Regions from separate parts of the Homo sapiens genome. Here all the other regions are linked to region 5. The links are contacts of gene promoters, found by promoter capture Hi-C in blood cells and fetal thymus (Javierre and others, 2016). All regions are on one chromosome and are shown on one strand. Each heading gives the region's core, a stretch centred on a gene start or on the middle of the fragment in contact. The rest is flanking DNA. Distances are from core to core; before and after follow the strand shown. Region 1 overlaps ZBTB11 (zinc finger and BTB domain containing 11). Region 2 overlaps ARL13B (ARF like GTPase 13B). Region 3 overlaps NSUN3 (NOP2/Sun RNA methyltransferase 3). Region 4 holds the start of PCNP (PEST proteolytic signal containing nuclear protein). Region 5 holds the start of CLDND1 (claudin domain containing 1). Region 6 overlaps CEP97 (centrosomal protein 97).

Region 1 (3,001 bases), core at 363-2,862, 3.2 Mb after region 5:
GGGCGTAAACTCAGAGACTGCTTCCAGAAATGTAAATCTGTCTACTTGTACCAATATATCATCACAAAAGAAGGGAGGGAGGATAATTAACAACAAACCAACAGGTAATTATTAAGTTCATTCTGAAAAAATAACAGGAACATTTATGATAAATGAAGAGGCAGTTCAGCTTATATAACACAGTACACTGCCATTTTGTCTTATTCAATAAGCAGTCTTAGTGGTTTGAGAAAAATAAGTCACCAAGGCTGCAAATACTAGTACACTAGTTACAAATCTTAAAGCTGACTGGAGAGTACCACTTACAAACACAAGTTCATGTTTGGATACTGGCTTCTTTTTTGCAGGCTTGGATGCTGTAGTTGGAGATGAAGTAAAGTTGCTCAGGTCATCTTCCGATTCATTACTTTCTTCTCCAGATTCAAGGTCTAGTCCCAATTCTTCCAACATTTCTGAAACATCTGATATTGGACGGGATCGATCTAGTTTCTCCTGGCATTTGCTACACTGTTTAATGTAATCTTTGACTTGCTTCAATATACCTACAATGAAAATATTAACAAGTCAAATTTAATACTGTTAACTGAAAACAGAATATATTATTTAGTCTGTGCACATTAACACATTTCAGTACATATGTGCAGACATTCATGTCCCATAAAATATGTAGAGTTTATTAGAATGTAAAATATACTTTTTTCCCAAAAAATATAAAGTTATAAATGATGTTCTCCTGCTGAGGTAATTTTTTTTATTTATTCCCAGTTATTTGTTTCTCTAATCATAAGATGACTATATAGCTCCACCCATTTTCATGTGAGTTGCAATGTTTTCATGCAAGAGGAACTATATGAAACTGCCAATATTCACCTTTTTTTGACCTACACAAATTAACAATTTAGGGCATGATGGCGCACGCCTGTAATCCCAGCTACTCTGGAGGCTGAGGCCGGAGACTCACTAATAACCCGGGAGGCGGAGGTTGCAGTGAGCTGAGATTGTGCCACTGCACTCCAGCCTGGGCAACAGACCAAGACTCTGTCTCAAAACAAAACCAAACAAATTAACAATTTAATATGGCTCAAGCTAATACTTCTCCACCCCAGTGACATTAGGCTTGACCGTGTGATTTGATTTGCACACATGTGATGTGTACCATATCTGAACAGAACCTTAAGAGGTACTGAGTATTTTGCACCAGTTCTCTGATCTTTGTCCCCTCTCACAAAGAACAGCAATGTCCCAGAGGGATGTTGTTCTTAAACCTGAATTTCAGATGAAAAAAGCTGAAACCAATCTGTAGCCTGGAACAGGACTACTACAAAACTTGTAATGAAAGTTTAAAATAAATCTTTTGTTTTTGAAAGTTATGAGATTTTAGGGTTGTGTGAAATAAAAGCATACACAATCTAACAAAAGTTGATTATATACAAGCCACTCACAAAAGATTTTGAATTTCAACTTCCAGCTCCCAGCATGCTAGGGTAGGGGTGAGGAGGCAGGGACAAGGCTTTATGTATATGTACACACATCCCACTATCATCCTTGTAAGAGAACAATTAATTCCCATTCTATACAAGAGGAAAATAAAGCCCTAAGAGGTATGTAGCTTGTCCAAAGTCACATCTAGTAAAATGGCAGAGCTAGGCCTCCAGAAGTCATGGGATTTTCGGTATATTATTCTACTTACACAAGAGCACGCTTGTCCATTCCTAGGGCAGAAAGTTACCCCCAAATCTTCAAATAAGTACAAATGAAAAGGTTATGAGGTAAAATGATAGAGGTATGGTATAGAGAATATTCCTGAAAAGTGTTTTAAAATGTCGAATTATACAAAGCTCCTTACACTTTTTTTTTTTTGAAATGGAGTCTCTCTCTGTTGCCCAGGCTGGAGTGCAGTGGTGGGATCCCGGCTCACTGCAACCTCCGCCTCCTGGGTTCAAGTGATACTCCCACCTCAGCCTCCCGAGTAGCTGGGATTACAGGCGCCCGCCACCACACCTGGCTAATTTTTTGTATTTTTAGTAGAGATGGGGTTTCACTATTTTTGCCAGGCTGGTCTCAAACTCCTGACCTCAAGTGATCTGCCCGCCTTGGCCTCCCAAAGTGCTGGGATGACGGGCATGAGCCACCTTGCCTGGCCACCAAGTTCCTTATACTTTCAATCTTCAAATAGTATTCAAGCAATATTTTCCAAATTGTATTATGTCCCACACTGATTATAAAAGTATACACTGAAGTCATAAATTCAGAAAAATTTTAGCTATATGCAATTGACATTTATTATTAGAACCTCTGACTTCTACGGTGAAGAAACCTGTTTAACCTAGGAATTTGTCAAATTTATGGATTCACAGAGACTGTTTTTTTTTTTTTTTGCAGAACATAAACAATGGGGCTTGGGGCGTGGCTCACACACTTTGGGAGGCTGAGGTGGGCGGATCATTTGAGGTAAGAAGTTCGAGACAAGCCTGGCCAACAGAGCAAAACAAAAATTAGCTAGGTGTGGAGGCACGCGCCTGTAGTCCCAGCTACTCCGGAGGCTGAGGCACCAGAATCACGTGAGCCTGGGAGGCGAAGGCTGCAGTGAGCCGAGATCGCGCCACTGTGCTCCGGCCTGGGTGACAGAACAAGACTCTGTCTCAAAGAAAAAAAGAGAAGAAAAGAAAGAAAGGAACAATGGGTTCGAGTTAAATATAACTTTATCAAAAAAGCATTTATATGAGTGTAGATTTAGAGACCAAAAGAGGTTGTATTGGCCGGGCGCTGTGGCTTACACCCGTAATCCCAGCGCTTTGGGAGGTCGAGGTGAGCAGATCATCTGAGCTCAGGAGTTCGAGCCCAGCCTGGCCAACATGGTGAAACCCCGTCGCTACTAAAAATAGAAAAATTAGCTGGGCGTGGTGTAATCCCAGCTACTCTGGAGACTGAGGCACCAGAATCGCTTGAACCCGGGAGGTGGAGTTGCAGTGAGCCGATATCGCGCCACTGCACTCCAGCC
Region 2 (3,002 bases), core at 118-2,617, 4.5 Mb before region 5:
GTTAATAATATCAGTATTCTTGTTGTATTCTTTGTTTTCTATTATAAAAGTGCACTTTTTCATAAAGACATGAAGTTTCATGTTTATATTCTTGTAGCTAATGGTAAAAAGAAAACTAAGAAACTAAGAATGAAAAGGAACCACCGGGTAGAACCACTTAATATAGATGACTGTGCTCCTGAGAGTCCAACGCCACCCCCACCCCCTCCTCCTGGTGAGTAAATTGATACTGATACTGAATTTAGAAATATTGCTTTAAACAACAGAGAAAAAAAAAAAGAAAAAAGGAATCTTGTCATTTTTATTCTGTATATTCATTATCTTGTATACTTGTGAAGAAGAATCTTTTACTCTGATTTGGACAAAATTTGCTAACACAAATGTCCATTGCTTTTTTGAATAAAAAAATGTTTTATAAAGAAAAAAATAAGTAAAAACTATTAAGAAAATTTTACCCAGTATTTCCTAGAATATGTTCAAGTTCTATTTGAAATATCAGTACCCACATGTTAATTTAAGTTTCACGATGGATGGCTAACATGAGTTTTTAAAACATTGAACCGGCTCGGCATGGTGGCTGACACCTGTAATCCCAGCACTTTGTGAGGCCGAGGCGGGCAGATAACCAGGTGAAGAGTTCGAGATCAACCTGGCCAACTTGGTGAAACCCCGTCTCTACTAAAGATACAAAAAAAAAAAAAAAAAATTAGCTGGGCGTAGTAGCACATGCCTGTAATCCCAGCTACTCAGGAGGCTGGGGCAGGAGAATCGCTTGAACCTGGGATGGAGAAGTTGCAGTGAGCCAAGATCACTCCATTGCACTCCAGCCTGGGTGACAGGGTGAGACTCCATCTCGGGAAAAAAAAAAAAAAAAAAAAATTGGACCTTTCATCCTGAAAGTTAATGTTTGAAACCAAGATGTATTAATTTTTTCTAATACATTTTCAATATACATACCCATGTCCTAAGTTGTTACGAGGATTAAATGGAGTAATGCATATAAAACACTGGGACTTAACTTGCACAATAATTTTGAGTAACTTTTCAGCACTAAGCTTAGCACCTCACCTACTATAGGTGGTCAGTAAATATGTAATGACTAGATAAATATGTGTATAGTGCCCTTATAGCCCTGCTACAAGGCTTTAGAAATTATTTGGTAACATTTTAAGAATCTCTTATAGACTCATTTCCAGTATTCCATTTATTAAGAAAATATTTAGTTTCTGCCTAGAGTTAGAATGATAGCATGAGTTTGTTTTTGATAGTGGTGAAGGTGCTTATAGTTTTTATTAAAAGCTACTGAAAAGTTAAAGCAGATGTTAGCAGCCTATAATTACATTTTAAAATATAGAAGCCATTTAAAATGGGTTTCTGGCTTTCCATACTGTCATTCAATATATTTGAATTGACATTGAATGTTACATATGCTTCCTTTCCAGGGAGGGATCCTCTCAACAGACCTAAAGAAACCTTGTTTAACAGTGTTTTTTAAATGTTTTTCTTTTTCTTTAGTTGGCTGGGGAACCCCTAAAGTCACTAGACTTCCAAAACTTGAGCCTCTTGGTGAAACACATCATAATGGTAATGCAAAAGGATTGGTTTTCAGATATCATCTGTACATGTCACATTCACTTTTCTTTAGCCTTATAATTTCAACAAACTTATGTTTTAGTTTTAGAAGCTTGTCAAATCCACAGCTATCCTTTTTCATTATACGTCTTTTTTCATTTTATTTAATTTTTTATTCTTAAGTATGCTTTACATCTATATCATTTAATTTGGTGTTTACCTTAGAATACAGAGGTAAAAAGAATCATAGCTTGTGTTTATTATCCATGATATATTTATACAAGGAGTTATAATAAAAAGGAAATGTTTTAAAATAATTTAACTATGAGACATTAGAATTTATAACTTAAGTGTTAAAAGCTGTAGTTTCCTGTATATGCTCAATATACTCAATGATAATGGCACATAATTTTTTCTCTCTACTCCTAATAAGACAACCAGCTGCTGAACATTAAAGTGAAGTAAAGATCAACACAGTTTATAAAATCAGAGATCAAATCAGTAAACCTAATAAAGTTCGACTAAGTAGAAAGTTACTAACATTTTTATTGAATTAAGAGAACAGTTTTCTTTGAATATAACATACGCTATAGTCTAGATAGTTTATGGCATTAGAATTCTAGGATGCAAAAACTAGAGGAAGGATATTTAGGAGAAGTAGAGAACTGCCTTATAAAACAAGGAGAAGTTCTGATTACAGACCATCAGTCTAGGTCCCTTCAGTAAAATATTTCTAGAATGCAAAAGAATTATAGATAAATGTAGTTCAATAAACTTGTTTGTTAAGAACATCCAATTCCTTTTTGGACAGCTCTGTGTTTACCTAGTCTAGAACTTGGTTTCACTTACTAGGAAAAAACTCAGAAGTTTACTCTTTAGAAAAGCATTACCATATAATTTGAAATTATATCAAACCAGTTTAAATATTTTTGTTTAAAAGGTACTTAAATATAAATGTGCTATTTGCTTTTTTCCCCCAGAATTCTATTTAGGTCAGTATTGAAATATTTCTTGATAATCGTTAGTGAAAATTCATGAATTTTTTTTTTTTTAAAGACAGAAAAGTTTGTCCTTAGACTCCATCAGAATTACTGAAGTGGTATTTTCAGTGAAATCTCATCTCTCTGTTTAGTTTACTGACTTGACATCGTGATGTTTATATTGACTACAGTAGATTTATTTCTTTATTACACAACTCTTAGTGAACTTGTGTACGTTAGAATACATTGTCAATATAAATATTCACTATGTTGTTAGAAAACTAATGTTACTGTGTATATTTATATGTACACACATACATATGAAGAAAAAATACCAATTTTTCATATGACATATTTTTTCTGTTGAACTCATTTAACATACAAGTATTTTGTTTGTTAAAACATTGGTAATAACAAGATGAATAAGATGTACATTCTGCCTTTGTGAGG
Region 3 (3,163 bases), core at 478-2,977, 4.5 Mb before region 5:
AATTGCCCTTCTGTGAGATACAAGGAAGATCCATTGCCAAAATAGAATAGGAAGCCATCAGCTCTTCGTTAGCATCTCTGAGGAGTAAAAATAAAATGACTCAAAAACATACTTTGGTGCATTTCCATAAATTGATTTGTTTTTCATTTCTAACTTTTAAAAGAGTTGAATGAGCACCCTCTAGTGGATAATAATAGCACTAAATCAAGGAATTTCTCTTTTTTAGCTATGGAAATTTAAATAGGTTCTGTAATCTACAGGGTTATATTAATTGTGTTTAACAATTTCTAGATTAAATGATATTTTTCATCTTCGTCACTAGGACGGAAGGTAGGGTGGAGAGTAGAGTAGTAGGAAAAAAGAATAAAGTCACAGAAAAGTTGAATGAAAATTATACTATCAAATAATAAACATTATCGAAATGATACATTATACAGTTTTGCAAAATTTTAACTTAACTAGCTTTTAATTTTTTAATGCTTTAATTTTGTTAAAATAGTAAGTAGTTCAGAGAGCCTTGAATCAGAACTCCAATTTTATTCATTTACTCCAGGATTTAGGCCCCAGGCACTTAGCCAAGGAGAAAAATAAGTCAAGGCTCCCATATAAATGAGTTAGGGAAATGGGTAAGCAGGCAGGGTGACACACAGTGTGATATATTAGTTTAGCTTCATTAACTGTTTCTCAAAATTCAGTTATTCTTGTGTACCATCTGTCTAGTTTTACTTAATTTTTTTTTGGTCAGTTTTAATATTTTTCTTTTGTTTCTTAGGAATTTTTCTTTTGTTTCTTAGGAATTTATTTTTCTTTTGTTTCTTAGGAATTTAAGCTTATTTTATATCATTATCAGTAAATAGATGTGCCTAGCCTATAGTTGACAGACGGTGTATTTTTAGAGAATGAATGAATGTTGACAAGAAGATAATATACGATGGCTCACACCTGTAATTCCAGCACTTTGGGAGGCCAAGGCAGGAGATTTGCTTGAGGGCGGGAAGATTGCTTGAGGACAAGAGTTCAAGACCAGCATGGGCAATATAGCAAGACCTCATCTCTAGAAAAAATAAGCAATTAGCTGGGTGTGGTGGTGCGTGCCTGTAGGCGCAACTACTTGGGAGACTGAGGTAGGAGGATCGCTTGAGTCCAGGAGGTCGAGGCTTCACTGAGCCATGATCGCACAGCTGTACGCCAGCCTGGGTGACAGAGTGAGACCTTGTCTCTAAAAAAAAGAAGACAAAACAGACTTAGCATGTTGGAGGGAGGAGCAACAATGAGTGAGAAATAGAAAGACTTTTCAAGGGGGTATGTAGGCTCAGGCAAGTGACCGCAGTCAGTTTTCACATCCTCAACTTTCATGTATTCTCTTTCAGAAAATTACTCTGCCCCTCTGTACATAAGGGGGCACATATTCTCCTTTCCCAACCTGCCTTTCTCCAATTTCCCTTCACCCTTTTCACAAAAAGAAAGGCACACTTGCACCATTCTGGCTTCTATGCTATGTTCCTCCAGGTATTCAAAACCTCCATATGCCAGAAACTATTGGAGTGTCAGTGTGAGAAAGCAAATGACTAACAGATTCTCTGACAAGTCAGGTGGTTTCCAAGTTTTGCTTTCAACAAAAGTAAAGGAGCCTTGATTGAGATGTCAGCTATCAATTCATTTAAGACATTTTTGATGATAGGTTGCTAAGTGATTTGGGGATATAACTCCAAAAGAATTCAAAGTAAGAAACATTGCTATAACAAAATATATTTAATTCTCATCCACTTATTTAACTGAAGGTTTTTCTCAGCTTTTATAAAAAACACAAAATAGGCATAAAAATGATGTTGAATCCTGACTGATTTTATTATAGTAAGAAGTAATATTCATTTATGGATATATGGAAACAAAAGCTCATTTCATTAAGTATCCATTTCTTACCAATTTTTACTTTTATAAGTTGTTTTGATCGGTTTTGTACTAATAATATTATTGATCCCTGAATCCAGAAGTTACCATTTTAACACTTAGAGATTTAAGACCACAGGAAAAACAAATTTAGTACATACACATGTGTATATGTGGGGGCTAGAGAAGCATGATAGGGTGATAAAAAGATTTCAAGCATGAAAATATATTAAGATGAAGTTATATGAAGTAGAATGTAAATAAAAGAGGAAAACGAGCAGCATAAAATTTCCACCTGTTAAAGATGAGTCAGTCTATGAATTTTTAAATGGATGATGATGGGTATCAAAATCATTATGATATTTAGTTTCCACTGGGCACATACTAAAGGCAGTATAATTTGTATTTTAAAATGTCAATTTTTACAGTATGCTGGAAATTGCATCCTTTAAACATATGGTGAGATTTTAATGTCAACTTAAAATGTGTTTTTTTTCAAAATGATATCAGTGGTGCACTAGCAAATTTGCAGGTCACTGACCTTGTATGTCTCCAGTTCTGCTGGCTACTGAGGTACTTGCACTTCTTCTCACCTGGAAGACCAGTAAATGGAGCCGCTTCAGACTAACTGTGAATCTTGGGAAAAGGCCTGGAGTGTGGCACCTGGCCGCTGTTTTCTAGAGTCATCTAACATACATTCCCTCTACTGCCTGCTAAGCTACTTGCCCATCCATAAAAGCTTTGGATTCGGAAGCCACTTTCCCTCCAGCCCCAGGTTAGCAACCCACCCAGTGCAGGCACAGGAGGGGTTGTATGTGTGTGTGTTGTGGGGAGGAGAATGGAGGTCAGTGGCAGGTGTGTGCAAGGGGAACTGTAAGAATCATATTAATACACAGCTTTGCTTTCTCAGGGCTAGGAAGCACCAGCCTGAGCAGCCTTAGCAGTCCCTTCAAGAGTTGGTCTGTTGCAGCTGCTTCTATAGGCAGGATGTGGCAAGCTGATTTCATTGTTAGACAGAAGAGGGTTTCAGGGAGGTCATGGCCACTTGCACTAAGTGAGGGTTGGGGTAAAATTCTCTTTCTTGCCCCCTTTTGTAGCTCTGTGCTGTAGTACCAGGGTCTCACACGTTGGGAATCACTTCTGTTAGACTTTAAAGTCAGTCTGATTTTGAATCAGATACTTCTGCGTACTAGCAATGTGACCTCAGGTAAGTTGCCAAAATCTCTAAAAGCCTCAGTTAACCTCTAAAATAGGAGTAAGAGCTGCCTCTCTC
Region 4 (3,437 bases), core at 44-2,543, 3.1 Mb after region 5:
AGATCACAAAATCACCACCACACTGCCCTGCTTCTGTCATGGGAAACACACTTTGATAATTTCTTCATTCTTTCTCCACTCCCTGGACTTGAAGCCCGAGAAGTAATCCATCCGCAAATATTGAACACTTTTTATATTCATATATGAAACGCACAGTACACAGTTTTTAAAAACTGGTCTCTGTTGTCAAGGAACTTTTGAGCCATTCAGAGAGACAACACTTAAAACACACACACACACACACACACACACAAACTGAGGGAAGTATGAAGTGACCAAATAATGGTATACAAAGATGATCTCATTTGATCCCTATTACCACTCTTTGAGGAGGTACTATTATTATTGCTCTTTTATAGAGAAGAAAAGGTAGCTCTGTAGGCAGTAAGCAAGTCTCAAGGTTACTCAAGCAGGAAAGGGCAAAACAGATTCAAATCCAAGTTCTGACTCCTAAGACTTTCTCTAACTATATATGGTAAGACAAACCCAGAAACTCCAGTTCCCTAAGCAAGTAATAGACCCCATTTGGCTAGGAGGGCTGGATAAATACTGAGAAAGGGGGAAGATGAAGCCGAAAAGGTAGGCTAGGGCCTAATGTAACTCACGGACTTCAGAATGCAGACTGTAGGAATCCACTAAAGGTTTCTTATTAAGGCAGAAATTACTGCAGTCTTAACTTGACATAGTAGTTTCTCAACTTGGTAGAAGCAGACTATACAAAAAGTAACTTTACAGTTGGCTACGTGACTTAGACAAATTACTCTCTCTGACCTCAACTCTTACAGGTAATTGAGAGGAGAATTCTATATTTGGACAATCGCCGTGATTAAACGAGTGTATGAAAGGCGTCTGAAGCTAGGGGGCGCTAGATAAACACTGATTTCCCCTTTAGGGAAAAAGAATGCAGGCTTTTTGTTTACATAGAGTTGGCAGGCATGCGTTATCCAGCAAGGCCGGAACGGAAGACACTCTCAGCCTCAGCTGCAACCACATCTGGGTATGCAGAAACCTTCTAAGATCCCAGCGTTTCCAGGGAGATGCTCCATTTCCCCTCACTTCTCCGGACCTGTCGCTAGACCATGAAGACCTGACTGCCCTCTAATAAAGTGCCTAGCCAGCACTCTTAGACCGCCCAACCTTCCCAGCTCTTCCTTCCGAGGCGGCTACTCGATGACATCACATCCACTTCCGCTTCCGAAGGCGGCCTCTTTTCATTCCTCGGGACCGCTCTAGGCTGCCACCACGCCGGCTGGCCCCAAAAACTCGATGGTTGTTGGGCGGGGTCGTGACGTCCTTGGCGTGGCTGCAGGGGAGGCCGCGGCGGGGAAAATGGCGGACGGGAAGGCGGGAGACGAGAAGCCTGAAAAGTCGCAGCGAGCTGGAGCCGCCGGAGGTGAACACAACCCCAGCGTCGTGGGCAGCGTGGGATGCTCCGGGCCTTTCTTTGAGCTCCCAGGGTGGGGGGAGTGGGGTGGGGCGAGAATGGGCGGATCTGGACCTCACCCGGCCAGGTGTTGGGCCCAGACCTGCCTCGGGCACGCCCGATGCGGCCCTCTGGGCTCCGGGCCTACATCGCCTCCTTGCCTGGGGAGAGCCGGCCACTGTTCGTCACCTCCTGGCCCCAGCGGAGGCCCTGATTCCGAGGAGAAGGGAGATGGGCGCCAGAAAGGGAGACCGAACTCGGGGTGGGACCAGGAGCGGCGGTGCAGGAGCCGCTACCGCCACACCGGAGACGCACATCACACAAAACACACACACCGGAGACGCTCATGAGACATAACATACACACAGTGCGAGCCACCGAGTAGTTGCCGCGGGAACTGGCCGCAGGCTGAGTTTCTGACGGTGCCGGCCTCTCAGTTACACGCAGGAGTTAATTACGCTTGCTGCTCCCTTTTCACTGAGGAGGTGGACAACTCCGGCCTGCTCTCTTTCCTTTACTTCCAAGTTTAATATTGACCCTGTGACAGGATGGGCCGAGGTGATGGAGGGGAAGAGGAATGCCTTTGCCTGCCCTCTGGTTTAAGCTGCGGGGTCTAGGGCTAAGGTTTGGTTGCTTTTCTTTGAAGTATCTCCCTTAGGCTGTTGCCAGCTGACCGCTTGCCAGATACTTAGGCGACTAAATAGTCTAGCGTGACTCTTCCTGTATTTTGTTACGACGTTAAACTCAGGTTACAGCTATCCTTATTCTGTCCATTCCACTCCCTAAATTCGGGTCTTGTGCGTGAAGGAAAAGAAACGTAATCTCTCCAGCTCCCTCTTTGCACATAACAAGACAAGTGACTTAACACGTGCGAGCTGTTTAAAATGTTTTTAGAACATTTTAAACATTATTCTCTATTCTGACCACCTTAGTTATCATTCCCGAAATTATTTAATATGAGAAAATAGAAACGATTAATAGCATATGAAGGCCACTAGTAGACCTACTAACATAATGTTTCATGTTAATTGCCTTGGGAACAAAAATTATTGAAAAGATTAAGTGTAATGTTAATTACTTTGGACCCAGGATTTCCTTTTTAAAAAACACGTACAATTCTGTTAGTTAAGCTGGAACTCCATCTCTCTCTTCCCTCCCCACCCCCTGTCTTTTTTTTTTTTTATAACTAGTAAAATACCTTATGAAAGAACAATTTAAATTTAAACCATCTACTACTTTCTCACTAGGGAATTTTTTTTCCCAAAAAAATTGTATTGGAAATTGTGGGATAAAATTACATAAAAGTTTAAAAGTAGTTTGAGGAAAAGCAAAAAATTTTAGACGTAGTTTGAGGAAAAGCCTAAAGAATCATGTGTTGATTTTAAGGCCATCTCGTTAACTGTCTTGACCGAGGGTAGCAGACGTGTTTAATGTGCTGTCAAAATGTACCTTGAGTGTCATTATAAATCCACTGTATAATTTACCTGCCATTCTTTCAGTTGAGGGTTATTAGTTCTATAGTATGAATATTGATGTTTCCATTTTAGCATGTGGGGAGAAGTAGTAGAGAATTACTTTGCTAATTGGTATCAGAAAAATTATTATGGTCTTTTTCTTGGTAACTTAGAGTAAGTAAATATCCCTTAACTTCTACATAATTTGTCTCCTTGCCGTTACAAGAAAGTAGTGCTGTTAAGTTTAAGCCATTTTTGAATGTCAGATATTTTTAATGAAATTGTGCATAGGAATCATAGTTAAAATATGTCATACCATGGATATTGCAAAATTGGTAATTTTGTGGCAGATAGTCACTTTTTTGAAAACACTGTCAAGTTTGTCTTAGGGGCTTAACTAGAGAATATTCTGAATTTTAATTCCTGTCGAGCAGTCTACTAAGTTGGAAGTATAAGTTTTTTTTTTTTATGAATGGTTTCCTTTTTTTTTTTTTTGAGATGGAGCTCTGTCGCCAGGCTGGAATGCAGTGGCGTGACCTGGGCGCACTGCAAACTCCGTC
Region 5 (3,316 bases), core at 180-2,679:
TAGAGTTTACGGACAAATAAGAAAGATTATTTTGAATTATTCCAAATGCACCCTTTACCCAATTCCCCATCCCTTCGTACATATAACCATTAAGAATTTTTTTTAGAAAGCAAGCATGTTTTTAATTAAGCTTAAAACAAAACTCATTCTCATAAAAGTACTTATTGAATGCTCACATACCCAGGATGCTACGGAGACAGAGGTCTTGTTCTCTAGTCTATCACCTGCATACTAAAACAGACAACACTGAAATGGACATACACATTACAGATACAAACAATAGACATGCCCATGGTCAGCAGTGTACCGTGCACACATTTTAAATTACAGACTGAATTTTTGCACGAGCTGCAGAGGATTAAGTGTTCTGGGTTTGAGTGTTAAAAAGGCACAGGAAAAAGAAGCAGTGGAAATTGGCTTCTCCCAGTTTCCTCTGAAGAGGGAAGCCTCCTAAAACAAAGGTAAGAGTCAGGAGCCATACAGAAAACAGAGTTGAAGATGTTTGTTAACCCCGAGGGAAAGGTTGTTCTAGGTGTATAAAATAGCAAAGAGAACAATAACATGTAATAATGCTAGATAGCAATCTCTCCCTAATCCATTAAAGCTAAGCCAAGCTTCTTTACGCTGCCAAATGCTTCACTCCTATCTACTCTCCCGATTCCTTATACTTCTGAACCTCCTCAACAGAAATCTTGCTCTCTCCCTAAATCCTCAGTGCAACATACGTCCGCAAAAACTAAATGATCCCTCCTCAGCCAGACAGAAAACTCTCAACATATCAACACTCCCAAGGCGTGGACAGGGCTCAACGGCAGTAGTAAATGGCCGCGGTAAAATGACTCAAGGCAGATCGCGCTGAGTCAAATACTACACGGCAAGTATACACCGTGACCGCACCAAACACCTTACAAAGGTTCATGAAAACAGACTCGCAAACTGGGGTTGCTGAGTTTGGAAAATGGGAAGTGACTCAGGAAAGATAAGAGCAATGACAACGAAAACTCAAAAAGTTGGATTTGTATTTTGATTTTTTAAAAATCCCCCCTTCATCCTGGTGCTCTCAAATGACCTTAAAGGGTCCCAGCACTGGGAACGGCGGTTCGTCCAAGCCGGACGCCTGCAGCAGCCACCTCCTGGGCCTCACGGCGGGGCCGGAGAAGGCCAGGGCTGGGGCGGGGCAGCCGTGCTCGGCCCCGGGCCAGGGTCCCCCGGTACCCGACCAGGCCCCGCCCTAGAGGGCTCGGCCCTGGGACAAATCCGCCGCTCGGAACCCGCCCAGCCCGACCACGCCCGGGAAGGGGGCCCCTCTTCAAACCGCCGGGAACATGGAACCGCGACGCGACCCCTGCCCGGCGACGCAGGTCCCGCTCACTCACCGCCCATCCTCCTGCTCCGCCAGCTTCACCCTCTAGCTCAGACCACAGCACCCTACTCTCCCCGCGCCTCCTCTGACGCACTTCCCTGCAGAGCCCGCCCCCTCCATAACTCCCGCGCCTCCGCCCGCCCCCACTCCGGGCCGGGCCGCGGCCCGGGGCCGAGGGGCCTTGTGGGAGTTGTAGGAGGGACAGACTGAAAGCTGTCTGAGGCGGCGATAGGCATTCCTGGCGCCGCGCGCGGCGCATTGTGGGAGATGTAGTTCAGCTCCTCAGGGCAAGCCGGTACGCAGAAGGGAAGTCTAGGCTGTTGGATTCTTGCATTTTAGGGAGGAAGGGAGAATGGTCCAGAAAGTAAAGCGGGCCTGTTTCCGGTCATCTCGAGTCAATGACCGTGACTTGTATAACTTAGATCTGACTTTTAGGCCTGTGCTTTCCCTATCACACCACCCTGCCTCTAGATCTAAGTATAAATGAACAAAAATGGGATTCTACTTGTGAAACGTTGACCCATTTTATTTCCCTCTCCCAGAATCCCTCCCATTGGAGCAGAGCATCCTTCTGGTTTTATTGCATAAGTTTAGGCTAAGAAGTATGTGACCTGGCAGACAGTATCCATCAAGAATGTAATGATATTATTTGGGTTTCATAAAATGTGTTTGTAGCTGCCTTCTTTTTATGACAAGTGATACTAGTTTTCTATTGCAGCAATGTTGTTCCTTTTAAATTCTTTTCACTTATTTTAAAAACTATTAAGTTAATAATACTGAGGATACCAGATATGTCAAAAAATGAATAAAAAATTGTGGGTATAGTAGGAAAAAGACTGAAATTTGGGGAACATCACTCAAGCAGATAAGGTCATGGACAGCATTGGAGATTGCAGATGATGTGTGGCACAGGGGCAACAATGATTCTGAACCCTCAGGTTTAACACAGAAATTCATGGACAGGAAGCAGGGACATCTTAACAATAACATGAGTGGAACTATTAACGTGGCCTGGGACCAGCAAATGGTGGATTTCTCAACAGTAACCGACAGAGAAAGCTGACTCAAGGACCAGAGGGGCTCTCAAACCCCCACTCTGTCCCCTAATGCCTTGTAATTTAGCATAGGAGAAAGATGGGAGCTGCAAGTTGATATTAAATTTCTACCACTTTGACAGATTAAAGGCATGATATGTTTCTCTATCTGTACTTACATTTCTTTGACCTGAGTGGGTGAAACTGATATTCATATGCAGCACATAATAAGGTAGTAGCCAAATATATTCAAACATGACTCTGGATTTTCATATACAGCATATAATCAAAAAAAAATTTGTCAGAGGCACCAACTAGAGAAAGTGATGGAGAGGCACAGGCAAATTGTCAATGTGTAGTAAGACACATAAATGCCCTTATACTCCAGGAAATGTCTTCATCCATTGGCCTTCATTAGAAATCCCCTATTTTCCGCCGGGCATGGTGGCTCACGCCTGTAATCCCAGCACTTTGGGAGGCCGAGGCGGCAGATCACGAGGTCGGGAGATCGAGACCATCCTGGCTAACACGGTGAAACCCCGTCTCTACTAAAAATACAAAAAAATTAGCCAGGCGTGTTGGTAGGCGCTTGTGGTCCCAGCTACTTGGGAGGCTGAGGCAGGAGAATGGCATGAACCCGGGAGGCGGAGCTTGCAGTGAGCCAAGATCACGCCACTGCACTCCAGCCTGGGCGACAGAACAAGACTCTGCCTCAAAAAAAGAAATTCCCCACTTTCAGATTTACCTCTCCACTGAGATCATGTGGTCAGTAAACCAGGCAAAAGAGAAGTTTAAAGGAGAGAGAAGAAACAACTTCAGTCTACAGATAAAGGAACTAGAGAGAGTAACTGACTTGGTAGCAAACTTGGATATTAGAGTAACTGACTACCATGGTAACACACTTGAATATACTCATTTT
Region 6 (3,448 bases), core at 17-2,516, 3.2 Mb after region 5:
ATTGGGTCACTGCACTCTAGCCTGGGCAATAGAGTGAGACTCAGTCTCAAAAAAAAAAAAAGGAATTATGTTAGAATACCAGAAATTAAGTTTGAAACTTTTTGTTGTTAGTTATATAACTCATTTATTTGATGTGAAACTGGTCATTGTAGTTAAGGTTAATTTTATTTACCATTCTCTGAACATGATGGAATTCCCTGTATGCCCAATCAACCAATATTAGTAACTTCAGTTATTATATAGTACATAATCTTTGGTGAGGTTGAGATTAATCATTCCTGAATTTGAGTCTGTCTTTATTTTTTTTTGAGACAGAGTCTTGCTCTGTCACCCAGGCTAGAGTGTAGTAGTACAATCTCACTCGACCTCCCAGGCTCAAGTGATCCTCTCACCTTAGCCTCCCAAGTAGCTAGGACCATAGGCATGTGTACATCACCACACCCAGCTAATTTTTTGAGTGTTTGTAGAGATGAGATCTTTTTCTTTTCTTTTTTTTTTTTAGATAGAGTTCTGCTCTGTCACCCAAGCAGTGGTGCAATCTTGGCTCACTGCAACCCAAGCAGTGGTTGCAGTGGTGCAATCTTGGCTCACTGCAACCTCTGCCTCCTGTGTTCAAGTGATACTTCTGCCTCAGCGTCCCGCGTAGCTGGGATTATAGGCGCCCACCACCACACCTGGCTAATTTTTTGTATTTTTAGTAGAGACAGGATTTCACCACGTTGGCCAGGCTGATTTTGAACTCCTGACCTCACATGATCCTCCTGCCTTGGCCTCGCAAAGTGTTGGGATTACAAGCGTGAGCCACTGCACCTGGCCAGAGATGAGATCTTACTATGTTGTCTAGACTGGTCTCAAACTCCTGGACTCTAGCAGTCCTCCTGCCTCAGTCTCTCAAAGTGCTAGGATTACAGGCATGAGCCACCGAACTGGCCGAGTCTGTTTTTTTGTTTTGTTTTGTTTTGTTTTGTTTTGTTTTGTTTTGTTTTGTTTTGTTGAGACGGAGTTTTGCTCTGTTGCCCAGGCTGGAGTGCAGTGGCGCAATCTCGGCTCACTGCAACCTCTGCCTCCCAGGTTCAAGCGATTCTCCTGCCTCAGCCTCCTGAGTAGCTGGGACTACAGGTGCATGCCACCACGCCCAGCTAATTTTTGTATTTTTAGTAGAGATGGCATTTCATCATGTTGGCCAGGCTGGTCTCGAACTCCTGACCTTGTGATCCACCCGCCTCGGCCTCCCAAAGTGTTGGGATTACAGGCATGAGCCACTGCGCTGGGTCCCAAGTCTGGATTTTTTTTTTTTTTTTTGACATTCAGAATTGCTGTTTTTAAAGTAATAGGTATTAGCTAATTGTCAAAATTAATTTCACTTAGAAAAAAACATGTAGCATGTAGCACTTTTTATGGAGGGGAATGTATCATGCAGTCAAATAAGTAACAGTTGAAATCACAGTCTTGAAAAACATGTAGAACATTTTAAATATTGTTGCCTCATTGGATATTATTACCATCAGATATGTTCATTAAGCCCTAGAAGCAGTATCTTAGTTCACTTTTTCCCAGATCTTTAGCAGAAATCATTTTTAGCAATAATTATTCTAAACATTTTGATGTAGCCAGATGTTGTCCTAATAGATGCTAAGAGAATTCAAATGAACCAAAGATGATTGAATTTTTTTTTTTTTTTTTGCTGGAATAGAAGCCTATTTATCTGATCAGAATCCTGGGTGTTCAGTTTTGGGTTTATTCTTGGTTGTTGCTGACTTAATGTGAGTCAGCTTTATCTGCAAGTAACACATTCTACCTCCCTTTATTTTTTAGTTACCTAGAGAATACAGTTGCAATTATGGATGTAGGTTATCACTCTCTTTTTTGGAAAATTTGCTTTATATGTGGTTGTTTTAATGACTTTTTTTTTTTTTTTTTTTTAATTTGAGACATCAGAGTCTTGCTGTCACCCAGGCTCGAGTGCAGTGGTGCAGTCATGGCTTACTATAGCCTCGACCTCCTGGGCTCAAGTGATCCCCCTACCTCAGCCTCCCCAGTAGCTGGAAATACAGGTGCACCTCATCATGCCTGGCTAATTTTTTGATTTTTAGTAGAGACCAGGTCTCACTATGTTGCCCAGGCCGGTCTCAAACTCCTGGGCTCAAGCAATCTTCCCTCCTTGGCCTCCCAAAATGCTGGGATTACAGGCATGAGCCACCACACATGGCCTCTATTTTGATATTTTAAAAGAAAATGAAAAAGTGTGTTAGAAATTGCTCAGTGTCTCATAAGTTAAATCTCACAGCATGCCTAGTTGCTATGCCAAGCATGTGTTTTTGGACAAGTCTTTAAAATATCATGAGCTTAGGATGTTGGTATGAAAACAGAGAGTTGGACCAGAAGATCATCAAGGACCCTTGTAGCATTAACAGTCTTTGATTTGTGTGTGATGAGAAATATAATAAAGTAGATTCCTTTATTCTTATATGTACCATTTTGGTGTTGTCACAATAGGCCAATTTATTTGTAATCTTTTCATTTGTAATTCATACTGTTTTTACTTTCAAGACCCTGCTTTTACATGGAAACATCATCACCTCTCTTAGAATGGCACCTGCTTACCTACCCAGAAGTCTTGCTATACTTTCTTTGGCAGAAAATGAAATCCGAGACTTAAATGAGGTAAAATTTGAGGGTATTTTGTGAGATTCAGGAAGCTGGAAATCCTAGGAAAGACACAGGAGAGGGTTGTGAGCTTACTTTTAGACTGTGAGCATCTTGGAAGAAACTGCCATTCATATGAAATGCTTGGCTCTAGATCTTTCCACTTTTCCTTAGTGTCAGTGGGTCATTAAGGTCTAATTTCCTTTGTAAAGCTGTAATTATCATTCCACTGGGAGGCGATTGGTGGTAGAGGGACATCTACGTTATAAGGGTTTATAAGACTCCCTGTCCACCTTTCCTGGCTGCTGTGATGTTTTCAAAATAGGGTTATTTCTGCTAGGAAACAGTGCTGATATTTGCCAGGGGATTTTGTGCAGCAGGGACAGATGGCTATATTGTTGAAACTTTGGAAGTCAATGGACACTTGTCACTTTTCAGAACAAGAGGGAAATTATCACATTCTCAAATGCTGCCAAAGATATGTAATCAGTGGAAATTTTGTGCTTGACACTGAATAGTCCTTTTGTTCAACAAAGATATCTTTTGTTCCAGATCTCTTTTTTGGCATCCTTAACTGAATTGGAACAGTTGTCGATTATGAACAATCCTTGTGTGATGGCAACACCATCCATCCCAGGATTTGACTATCGGCCGTACATCGTCAGCTGGTGCCTAAACCTCAGAGTCCTAGATGGATATGTGATTTCTCAGAAGGAAAGGTAAACATGTGCTCTTTAACATCACAAATGTTACTGAAAAGACCATTTCTAGTTTACTACAGATTAATAGAGTATTTCTTAAA

Evidence for each region. Contacts are between HindIII fragments. The CHiCAGO score rates a contact against its expected background, and 5 or more counts as called.
Region 1: a fragment that was not itself captured here is called in contact with the fragment with the promoter of CLDND1 in region 5 in 3 of 17 cell types (fetal thymus, naive B cells and total CD4 T cells); the score reaches 10.9 in fetal thymus.
Region 2: a fragment that was not itself captured here is called in contact with the fragment with the promoter of CLDND1 in region 5 in 1 of 17 cell types (total B cells); the score reaches 8.0 in total B cells.
Region 3: a contact is called between a fragment that was not itself captured here and the fragment with the promoter of CLDND1 in region 5, in 2 of 17 cell types (naive B cells and total B cells). The highest score is 6.6, in naive B cells.
Region 4: the fragment with the promoter of PCNP here is called in contact with the fragment with the promoter of CLDND1 in region 5 in 5 of 17 cell types (total B cells, naive CD8 T cells, fetal thymus and 2 more); the score reaches 17.2 in total B cells.
Region 6: a contact is called between a fragment that was not itself captured here and the fragment with the promoter of CLDND1 in region 5, in 1 of 17 cell types (total CD8 T cells). The highest score is 5.2, in total CD8 T cells.

The regions. Positions count from the first base shown.
Region 1 is chr3:101,671,672-101,674,672 of GRCh38, forward strand. ZBTB11 (zinc finger and BTB domain containing 11) reads right to left here. Exons shown (of 11, transcript NM_014415.4): 2 at 307-542. Among named protein-coding and RNA genes, the nearest start is that of ZBTB11-AS1, 3.3 kb to the right of the region's middle. RefSeq lists an enhancer at 2,205-2,705. The HindIII fragment of the contact is 3,726 bases long and covers 1-3,001 here.
Region 2 is chr3:94,049,309-94,052,310 of GRCh38, forward strand. ARL13B (ARF like GTPase 13B) reads left to right here. Exons shown (of 10, transcript NM_001174150.2): 8 at 98-214; 9 at 1,516-1,584. Among named protein-coding and RNA genes, the nearest start is that of DHFR2, 12 kb to the right of the region's middle. The HindIII fragment of the contact is 629 bases long and covers 1,054-1,682 here.
Region 3 is chr3:94,069,241-94,072,403 of GRCh38, forward strand. All of the region lies in intron 2 of NSUN3 (NOP2/Sun RNA methyltransferase 3), which reads left to right. Among named protein-coding and RNA genes, the nearest start is that of NSUN3, 7.8 kb to the left of the region's middle. The HindIII fragment of the contact is 1,800 bases long and covers 828-2,627 here.
Region 4 is chr3:101,572,887-101,576,323 of GRCh38, forward strand. PCNP (PEST proteolytic signal containing nuclear protein) reads left to right here and starts at 1,294. Exons shown (of 5, transcript NM_020357.3): 1 at 1,294-1,393. The coding sequence starts at 1,330. RefSeq lists enhancers at 505-1,450, 894-1,163, 1,264-1,393, 1,474-1,633, 1,654-1,813. The HindIII fragment of the contact is 5,212 bases long and covers 1-3,437 here.
Region 5 is chr3:98,521,473-98,524,788 of GRCh38, forward strand. CLDND1 (claudin domain containing 1) reads right to left here and starts at 1,430. Exons shown (of 5, transcript NM_001040181.2): 1 at 1,377-1,430. It overlaps CLDND1-AS1 (CLDND1 antisense RNA 1), which reads left to right and starts at 1,098. Exons shown (of 2, transcript NR_198998.1): 1 at 1,098-1,361. RefSeq lists silencers at 877-986, 1,037-1,676 and an enhancer at 2,879-3,008. The HindIII fragment of the contact is 2,905 bases long and covers 613-3,316 here.
Region 6 is chr3:101,729,290-101,732,737 of GRCh38, forward strand. CEP97 (centrosomal protein 97) reads left to right here. Exons shown (of 11, transcript NM_024548.4): 5 at 2,551-2,664; 6 at 3,199-3,365. Among named protein-coding and RNA genes, the nearest start is that of CEP97, 6.4 kb to the left of the region's middle. The HindIII fragment of the contact is 5,493 bases long and covers 1-3,448 here.